Linked DNA regions of Homo sapiens: region 1 is linked to region 2. The links are contacts of gene promoters, found by promoter capture Hi-C in blood cells and fetal thymus (Javierre and others, 2016). All regions are on one chromosome and are shown on one strand. Each heading gives the region's core, a stretch centred on a gene start or on the middle of the fragment in contact. The rest is flanking DNA. Distances are from core to core; before and after follow the strand shown.

Region 1 (5,734 bases), core at 682-3,181, 2.0 Mb before region 2:
TAGGCTGATGCATGCCCGTTCCTAAAGAAATACAAATGCTTACTCATGACTTTTTGGATGAATATATCTTTTTGGCTGTAGGCAGAGTAGGCTCTACATCTGAGAATATCACACAGAAAGTAGTTTGGGTTTATCTATCTAATTTTATTTTAATATAGAGGCCAAGAGCACCTTGTGAATGATGCAACAGATTTTAAGCTCGCTCCCATACTTACCGCTCCAACAAAGGCTGTACCTCAGTTTCCTGGCCAATGGATCAAAATGATATGGCTCCGATGACTGGAGGAACACCAGCGTCCTTAGTCTTGTGTCAATTTAGATAAAATGACACAGACACATGTGGAGTCGTTTTAAGGAGCAGAGAGTTTAATAGACAAGAAAGAAGGAAGGAAGAAGAAAACAGCTTCCCCGTACAGAGACAGAAGGCAGGGGGATTCGAACAAAGAGAAAAACTCCAAGTGTGATAGAAAAGTGGCTGCTTATATGAGGAGGCTGGAGGACGTTTGTGTCTGATTTGGATAGGGCTCAGGGGATTGGTTTGACCAAGCATGTCATTCACGTAGCCTGAGAAAAAACTGGCCCTCCCACCCTAGCCTTTTAATATGCAAATGCAGGGCACCATGATATTTTACACATGTGTGGATATGTGGGGGTGGCCGTGTTGCCAGGCACATGTGGAGGCCAGGGCAAGAATAAGACTGCAGGAATTGCCATGTTTGGGTGGGCCCAGTTTCTAATGGCCGGTATTTGCATATCAAAGCTTGCTGGCCTAGCTTTCCTGCTAGACAAGAAATGTTTCTGGAGTTGCTCTAAAAGAAAAAAAAGAACTTCCCAAGGACCCCTTTTCTTATCTGCTTAAAATAATTTCTTAATAACTCTTTCTTTTTTTTTTTTTTTTTTTTTTTTTGAGACAGAGTCTTGTTCTGTCACCCAGGCTGGAGTGCAGTGGCACGATCTCGGCTCACTGCAACCTCCGCCTCCTGGGTTCACGTGATTCTCCTGCCTCAGCCTCCCAAATAGCTGGGATTACAGGTGCACAACACCACGCCTGGCTAATTTTTTGTGTATTTTTAGTAGAGATGGGGTTTCACTATGTTGGCCAGACTGGTCTCGAACTCCTGACCTCGTGATCCGCCTGCCTCAGCCTCCCAAAGTGCTGGGATTACAGGTGTGAGCCACCGCGCCCAGCTCTTAATAACTCTTATAACAAGAATTATAATTTCCTCCACATCCATCACTGTTGTAGAAGCCTCCATAGCTACCTCCACCACATCTGCTGCTGCTGCCATGACCACCTCCACCACTGCAGCTGCTGCTTGTATGACTACTACTGAAGCCAGAACTGCTGGAACCACTACTTTGTCAATAGTCTCTGGCACCAAATCCTCCACTGAATCTTTTAGATCATGCATGAATACCACCCTTGTAGTGGTGTTTATAAGCTTTATTTTCCAACCAAGCAGGCACTTCTTGTTTAGCTTCTATAAGAATATCCAACAAATCCTTTGTAATATTCATATTTCTTTAATTAAAGAATGAGGTGGCAAGACCCTGGATTCCCACACATCCTGTACAGCCAATACAAGGCACATATTCTTCAATATCACTTGGCAAATCAAAATTGAAGCATGTTTCACATTTGAAATGTCTAGTCTTCATGCTGCCACAGCTGTAGCCACTAGAATTGGGATTTTCCCCAAGCAAAACTGATGAAGGGCCTCCTTCTCGATCTCTCTGTGATTGGTCTCCATGAATACTAGTACAAGGATATACTTCATGGTATAAGAAATTCTCCAGAGAATCTTCTCCCTTTTTGGTCTCCACAAACACTAAAGTCAGTGAATCCTTCCCTGGTGCATTTAAGAGATCAAGCAGAAATGACCGTTTATCTGGCTCTTCCACCCAAACTACTTCCTGTGTGATAGTCTCAGAGGTAGAGCCTACTCTTCCTACAGCCAAAAAGATATATTCATCCAAAAAGTCACGAGCAAGCATCTGTATTTCGTTAGGAAAAGTAGCACTAAACATCATGATGTGATGAATGCCCTTCAGTGGCATAGTATCTTGTTCAAGTATAAGATGTATCTGAGGTCCAAATCCCATATCCAGCATCCTATCAGCTTCATCCAACACTAAGTATTTGCAGAAGTCTAATCCAATCTTTCCTCTTTCCATCAAATCCACTAGACCTCCTGGCGTGGCTACTAACAAGTGGCATCCATGTTCTAAGACCTGAATTTGCTGACCAATATCAGCATCACCATAAACTACACAAGGATGAACTCTAGGCTGGTATGAAAATTTTCTGACTTCCTCATATCTGTACAGCCAATTCTCTTGTTGGGGCTAAAACCCAGGAGATTGAGTATTGTTCATGGCATCCATACCTTCCATTTTCCTTCACAGCCTTCAAAGCTTTTCCTGGACCATCTATATATATCTGACTCAGTACGGGTAAAAGAAATGCTGCAGTTTTCCCAGACCCTGCTTGGGCACAAGACATTAAGTCTCTTTTTTTCCCCTAATAATAGGAATGGCATGTTTTGCAGTGGAGTAGGATGAGTATAGTAAGTAAGCTCTGTAAGGTCCTCTGAGCTGGCCGCACCATGGTCAAGCCATCGTGACATTCCCCCGCCCTTGTGATAATGTACTTTGTGATATTCCCCATCCTTGTGAAGGTAGTTTGTAACATTCCCCGCCCTTGTGACAATACACCCTCCCCGCCCTTGTTAATGTATTTGTAACATCCATCCCCTGCCTGCAAAAAATTGCTTCTGACTCCACTGCCTATCCCAAACCTATAAGAATAAATGATAATCCCACCACCCTTTGCTGACTCCTTTCTTGGATTCAGCCCACTTGCACCCAAGTGAATAAACAGCCTTGTTGCTTACACTAAGCCTGCTCAGGTGGTCTCTTATACGGACACACATAGTATTTGGTGCTGAAGACCCGGGACAGGGGAACTCCTTCAGGAGACTGGTCCCCTGTCCTCATGCTACCTCTGTGAGGAGATCCACCTACGACCTCAGGTCATCAGACCAGCCAGCCCAAGGACCATTTCACCAATTTCAAATCGGTAAGCAGTTATTTGCACTCGGGTAAGCAGTGTTTTTGCTCTCTACCTAACCTCTATTGCCTCCCTTCAATCTCTCTCCTTTCAATTTCAGTTTCTCTCCCTTCCTGGTAGAGACAAAAAGGAGACACACTTTATCTGTGCATTCAAAAACTCCGATGTTGGTCACGGACTTGGGAAGACAGTCTTCCCTTGGTGTCTGATCACCGTGGGGACACCTGTCTTGATCATTCACCCACATTCTCTTGGTGGCAGGTCAATTATGGGGATGCCTGCTTTGGCTGCTCACCCACATTACAGCCCAGGACTCAGTCAGGGATGCCTACGGGAAGCCTGTAGTTGCCACCTCCATTTCTCCGTGTCTCTACCTTCCTCTTTAAACTTACCTTCTCCACTATGGGCAACATTCTGCCATCCATTCCTCCCTCTTCCCCCTTAGCCTGTGTTCTTAAAAACCTAAAACCCCTTCGACTAACACCTGACCTAAAACCTAAACATCTTATTTTCTTCTGTAATACTGCTTGGCCCCAGTACAAACTCGACAATAGTTCCAAGTGGCTAGAGAATGGCACTTTTGATTTGTCTATCCTACAAGACCTAGATAATTTTTGTTGAAAAATGGGCAAATGGTCCGAGGTGCCTTATGTCCAGGCATTTTTTTACAATTCATTCCCTCCCTAGTCTCTGCTCCCAATGCCACTTGTCCCAGATTTTCCTTCTTTCTCTCCCATCCACTCCTCTTGTCTCCACCCCAAACTCAGAGTCCTCTGAATCCTCCTTTTCCACTGACCCCTCTTACCTCTCTTCTCCCCCGGCTGCTCCTTGCCAGGCTGAATCAGGTCCCAATTCTTCCATAGCCTCCGCTTCCCCACCCTATAACCCTTCTATTACCTTCCCTCCTCACACCTGGTCTGGCTTACAGTTTCGTTCCGTGACTAGGTCTCCCCCACCTGCCCAACAATTTCCTCTTAGAGAGGTGGCTGGAGCTGAAGGCATAGTCAGGGTACATGTGCCTTTTTCTCTATCAGACCTTTCCCAAATCAGTCAGCATTTTGGCTCTTTCTCATCAGACCCCAATAAATATATACAGGAATTCCAATATCTAACTCAGTCCTTCACTTTAACCTGGAGTGACTTAAATGTCATCCTGACCTCTACCCTCTCCCCAGATAAATGAGAAAGAGTTTATTCTCTAGCCCAGTCCTATGCAGACACCTGCCGGCTTCATAAGCCAGGCCTCCAAGAGGGCACTAGGGCAGTTCCCCGAGAGGATCCCCATTGGCAATACCACACAGACTCCCCAGGTATAGCTAGGTGAGATTACATGGTCTCCTGCCTAGTCTAGGGGCTCAAAAAGGCAGCATACAAAGCTGTTAATTATGACAAGCTAAAGGAAACTACCCAACGTGAAGATGAAAACCCAGCCCAGTTCATGGCCCACTTAGCAGCTACCCTTAGATGCTTTACAGCCTTAGACCCAGAGGGGCCAGAAGGCCGCCTTATCCTTAACATGCATTTTATGACCCAATCCACTCCTGACATTAGAAAAAAACTCCAAAAGTTGGATTCCGGCCCTCAAACCCCACAATAGGATTTAATCAACCTCACCTTCAAGGTGTTCAATAACAGAGAAGAAGCCGCCAAGTGGCAACGTATCTCTCAGTTATAGCTACTTGCCTCCACTGTAAGACAACCCACAACCACGTCTCCAGCATACAAAACCTTCGGAACATCCAAGCCACAGCTCCCAGGGGCTCCTTCAAAACCTCCCTGTGGACCTTGCTTCAAATGCCAAAAGCCTGGCCACTGGGCCTCGGAGTGCCAGCAGCCCAGGATTCCTCCTAAGTCGGGCCCTGTCTGTGCAGGCCCCCACTGGAAGTCAGACTGTCTGACTCACATCGCTGCCACTCCTAAAGCTCCTGGAGCTCAAACCCAACATTCCTTGGCCGACTCCTTCCCAGATCTCCTCGGCTTAGCAGCTGAATGTCGATGCTGCCTGATCGCCTCAGAAGCCCCCTGGACCATCACGGATGCCGAGCTTTGGGTAACTCTTACAGTGGATGGTAAGTCCATAACCTGTTTAATCGATACGGGAGCTACCCCCTCCACATTACCTTCTTTTCAAGGGCCTGTTTCCCTTGCCCCCGTAACTGTTGTGGGTATTGACGGCCAGGCTTCTAGACCCCTTAAAAGTCCCCAACTCTGGTGCCAACTTGGATAACATTCTTTTATGCACTCTTTTTTAGTTATCCCCACCTGCCCAGTTCCCTTATTAGGCCGAGACATTTTAACTAAATTATCTGCTTCCCTTGCTTCCCTGACTATTCCTGGACTACAGTCACACCTCATTGCTGCCCTTTTACCTGATTCAAGGCCTCCTTTGAATCCTCCTCTCATGTCTCCCTACCTTAATCCACAAGTATGGGATACCTCTACTCCCTCCTTGGTGACTGATCAGGTACCCCTTACCATCCCATTAAAACCTAGTCACTCTTACCCCGCTCAATGCCAGTACCCCATCCCACAACAGGCTTTAAGAGGACTAAAGCCTGTTATCACTCACCTGTTACAGCATGGCTTTTTAGAGCCTATAAATTCTCCTTACAACTCCCCTATCCTACCAGTCCAGAAGCTGGACAAATCTTACATGTTGGTTCA
Region 2 (3,647 bases), core at 1,137-3,636:
CCAGTGGGTAAAGTAAGCAGCTGGAGGTCTCTTGTCAGTGGGTGCATGCTGGCTCTCCCAGGTGGGGGATGAGGCAACTCACCATCAATATAAACTCCAGACGCCTGGCAGACTGGGGCCTTGGGTTGGGGGTGGGCTTAGTGGCCTCATCAGAAGAGCGGAAGGTCTGCCCCACAAGTCTGGCCTCCGAGTACTGTTCCTCATATTCTTCTGAAAAATAGCACAGTGGAGACACACACTCTAGGGTGCCATGGCCGAGCGCTGGGCCGGGGAAGGGCCATGAGCCAGGACTCCTGCTCTAGCTGCCAGGCCTGACTTGCATTTTCTTTAGGCTATTTCCAGGTGTTTGAGCCACTGGATTTGGAAATGGAAAAGTGCTTGCTTCCCAGGACCATGAGGATCGAGGAGAAGAGAAAGTCAATAAATTCATGCTGTGGTGGTTTGGGGACCAAGCCCTTATCTCAATGATCCCCACCTTGAGTGCTCAGTTACGAAAAGAGGCTCAGAATGCAGACACCTTTTGCTACTTTGGACTGCAAGTTCCTCTCTTTGAAGCCCTGCAGCTCTTAAGGTTTTCTGCGACCCTACCAAGGAAATGACCTGTGTGAAGCAAGAAGAGATTTACACCAGGAAGTCCAATCTGGAGTTCTTTCTTGGATGTCAAGAACTTTTACTTGAGCCTTTGTGGGCCGTGTTCCCTGCACCTTAGTCCCGCTGTAAGTGATGTCAGGTCTAGGAGGGCTAAGGTGAAGGAGAGGGAAGGAGGAGGTAACAGCATAAAAGAGGCAGAAGTTCAGCGGCATCATCAGTGAGTAAGGATGCACAAGATTTGAATAGGGTTGATTGAAGTGATGAATTTGATGAGAATACATGAAGAAAGTGAGAGTAGAGAAGGGACATTCATGCTGTATGTACACTGAACAAAGACTCAGAATCACAGAGATTTGGGGTTGCTCTTGGGGTTCTTTGGTCCAACGCCTCATTCTGTGCCCAGACTCCCTCCTCAGCAGCCCTTCTAGGTGTTTCTTCAGCCTCAGCGCACACACCTGCAGGGAAGGGGAGCTCCCTCCCTCCCAAGGCAGCTCATTTCTTCCACGGACAGTTGGGGCTGTCAGGTGTGTCAGAAAGTTCTTCCTTATCTGGAGGTGGAATGTGCCTCCTTCTGGGTTTCCACCCACTGGTCCTAATTCTGCCATGGTAGCAACACAGAGCACATCGACTCTTTTTCTGTGTGGCAAGTCCTTTGTTATCTGAACACAAGGCTCATGGTGTCCCTTGGCATCTTGCTTTTCCAAGGTCACCACTGCCCTGGTAGGGGGTGGGGGTTATGGCTGTCATCCTGTTGGTGGCCCATCAGCAGTTTTCTATTCGCCATTAGAGTTAACCTTTATTAGTATAGATAAAGGAGTGCTGACAAGACCTCTTTTCATGCTCAACATCCACTGAGCACCTCTTGGCAGGTGGGGAGGGAATCCAGCCTTGTGCCAGGTGCTTCTGGAAACCTAAGGGTAGCAAGATGTGATTCTTTACATCGAGAAGCTCAGGCTTGGTTAGGGGGGACAAAATAGGTGACCTCTGGGTGCTGTGTATTGGGCTTACTTTGGTGAGGCAGTAGCTATCCAGGGGTTATTGCAAGAGCAGAGTGAGTGAAGCCCAGAGTGGGAGATCCTGCAGATGCCCCCTTTGTCTTCTGGTGCCAGGATCCCAAAGGCATGGGCGATGTGGCAAGAGGGGGGCTGGAGGGAATGTAGGCCCACATTGTGGGAGTCTCCCACCCAGCTCTCGGTGAATGGCATAACTTATGGCCCTGCCTCAGTCTCTGTCCTTGTTTCCCCATGGGCTACTGAGCTGAAAAAAGGGGCTGGGGATGGGGGGAAACAGCCCTGGAAATAGCCTCTTTCAGAATCATTAGGCTGAAAGGTGAAAGCTGGAAACTGCTTTGTCGATTGTTTTTAAACTCTCTGTCTTTATCTTGCTGGTCCCTGTCCTCTTTCTTCTTTGCCTCCCTCCTGCCGCTGCGCATCTCGCTTCTGGGCTCCGGCCGCAGCCCCCCTCCCTCTCGGTACCTTGCAACAGGCTCTGGAGATTGAGCTGCGCCTCCCGAAGCAGCTCCTCTACACTCGGGGGCCTGCCCGAGGAGAGGAACACGTTCACTGGCTGTCGCCATGACGACCTCGAGTGGGCAGTCGCTGTCGCATTTTCCCGACCCGAGTTAGCTGCAGCTAGGGAAGGAGAGAGTCAGTGAGAGGCGCAGGCGAGCTGGAGGGGAGCGGCGCGCGGCGGCCAGTGGGCGCCCGCGGTTCCCCAAGGCCCGCCCCTGCGTGGGGTGGGGGGAGTGCGAGGCTGCGCTTAAAAGGCGGGGAATCGCCGGCCGCAAGATTTTTCCTCGACAGATCCTGCCGCAGTCCGCTCCCTCCCGCTCCGCTCGCCCCTGCCCGCCCGCCCGCCCGGTCGCGCGGTCGCCGCCGCCACCGTGTCGCCCGCATCCTCCGCCTGGCGCCTCCGGGCCCCGTGCCTCCGCCCGCCCTCTCCGGCCCCGGCGACGAGGTAACGCGCCCTGGGCCGAGCCGCCGGGCCCTCCGCCCAGAGCGCCGCCCTCCGAGCTCGCCCCGGTGGGTGTGGCCCGGCCTGGCCCGTGCCCCGCTGCCGCACTTCGGTCCCTCCCGAGCCCCGCCGCCGCATTTCGGCCTCCTCCGGCCGCCCGTAGTTCCAGTTCCCCTTTCCCCACCACGGAGCCCCAGGGCCCCTGGGCTTGTCGAGATGTCTGAGGCGTCAGGAAATCTCAACAGCCTCCGCATGGCGAATGTGGCCCTGCGCGAAGAATTAAATGCCCTTCGCGGGGAGAATGCCAATTTGGGCCTCCAGCTCGGGAGAGCCCTGGCCGAGGTTAATTCCTTGCGGGGCAATGTCTCCAGCTACATCCGCTGGCCAGTACCCATAGTGCCCGTCCTTGCGGAGGAGAACTTGGAGTTCGCGCTCAGTGAGATCGAAGTCATTCCCGGGGGAGAACTGCCCTTCTTGTGCCGGCCTCCCCCACGCGCGGAGCCCGACTGTATCTCGGATGATCTTTTGATTAACGTGATCCAGGATCGCAGCACCCCCGACGGGCCCGCTGACCCCCCTCTGCTGCCCATCCCGCCCCCGCCGGCGCTGCCTCCGCCCGCGTCAAAGGAACCGCCCCCGCAACCCCCTCTGGCACCGCTGGAGCGGCCTGAGATAGAGCCCTTTTCAGGAGACCCAGTCTACCTGGCTGAATTCCTGATGCAGCTAGAGACCTTCATAGCCGACCATGAGGTTCATTTCCCCGGGGGCGCCGAGCGGGTGGCCTTTCTGATCTCCTTTTTCACTGGCGAAGCCAAGGACTGGGCCATCTCGGTCACCCAGGAAGGAAGCCCCTTGCATGCCAACTTCCCGCGCTTCCTGGATGAAATCCGTAAGGAATTCTGTGGCCCCATCCCCCCACGTGTGGCTAAAAAGGCCATTCGCAAGCTCAAGCAGGGCCACTGTACCCTCGGCAGCTATGCAGATGCTTTTCAGTTCCTGGCCCAATTCTTGTCTTGGGATGACTGCCGCCTCCAAAACCAATTCCTCAAAGGCCTGTCGGAATTCTTCCGCAAAGAGCTCTTATGGTCAACAGAAATGGCCGA

What was found. The method cuts DNA at HindIII sites, captures the fragments that hold promoters and counts their contacts. A CHiCAGO score of 5 or more calls a contact.
Region 1: a contact is called between a fragment that was not itself captured here and the fragment with the promoter of RTL5 in region 2, in 1 of 17 cell types (total B cells). The highest score is 5.0, in total B cells.

The regions. Positions count from the first base shown.
Region 1 is chrX:74,127,401-74,133,134 of GRCh38, reverse strand. All of the region lies in intron 5 of FTX (FTX transcript, XIST regulator), which reads left to right. It also overlaps the pseudogene DDX3P1 and the pseudogene DDX3P2. Among named protein-coding and RNA genes, the nearest start is that of MIR421, 88 kb to the left of the region's middle. The HindIII fragment of the contact is 973 bases long and covers 1,445-2,417 here.
Region 2 is chrX:72,130,654-72,134,300 of GRCh38, reverse strand. It overlaps RTL5 (retrotransposon Gag like 5), which reads left to right and starts at 2,386. Exons shown (of 1, transcript NM_001405151.1): 1 at 2,386-3,647. The coding sequence starts at 2,761. It overlaps NHSL2 (NHS like 2), which reads right to left. Exons shown (of 8, transcript NM_001013627.3): 2 at 2,067-2,222; 3 at 83-210. RefSeq lists silencers at 2,306-2,365, 2,526-2,595. The HindIII fragment of the contact is 11,603 bases long and covers 1-3,647 here.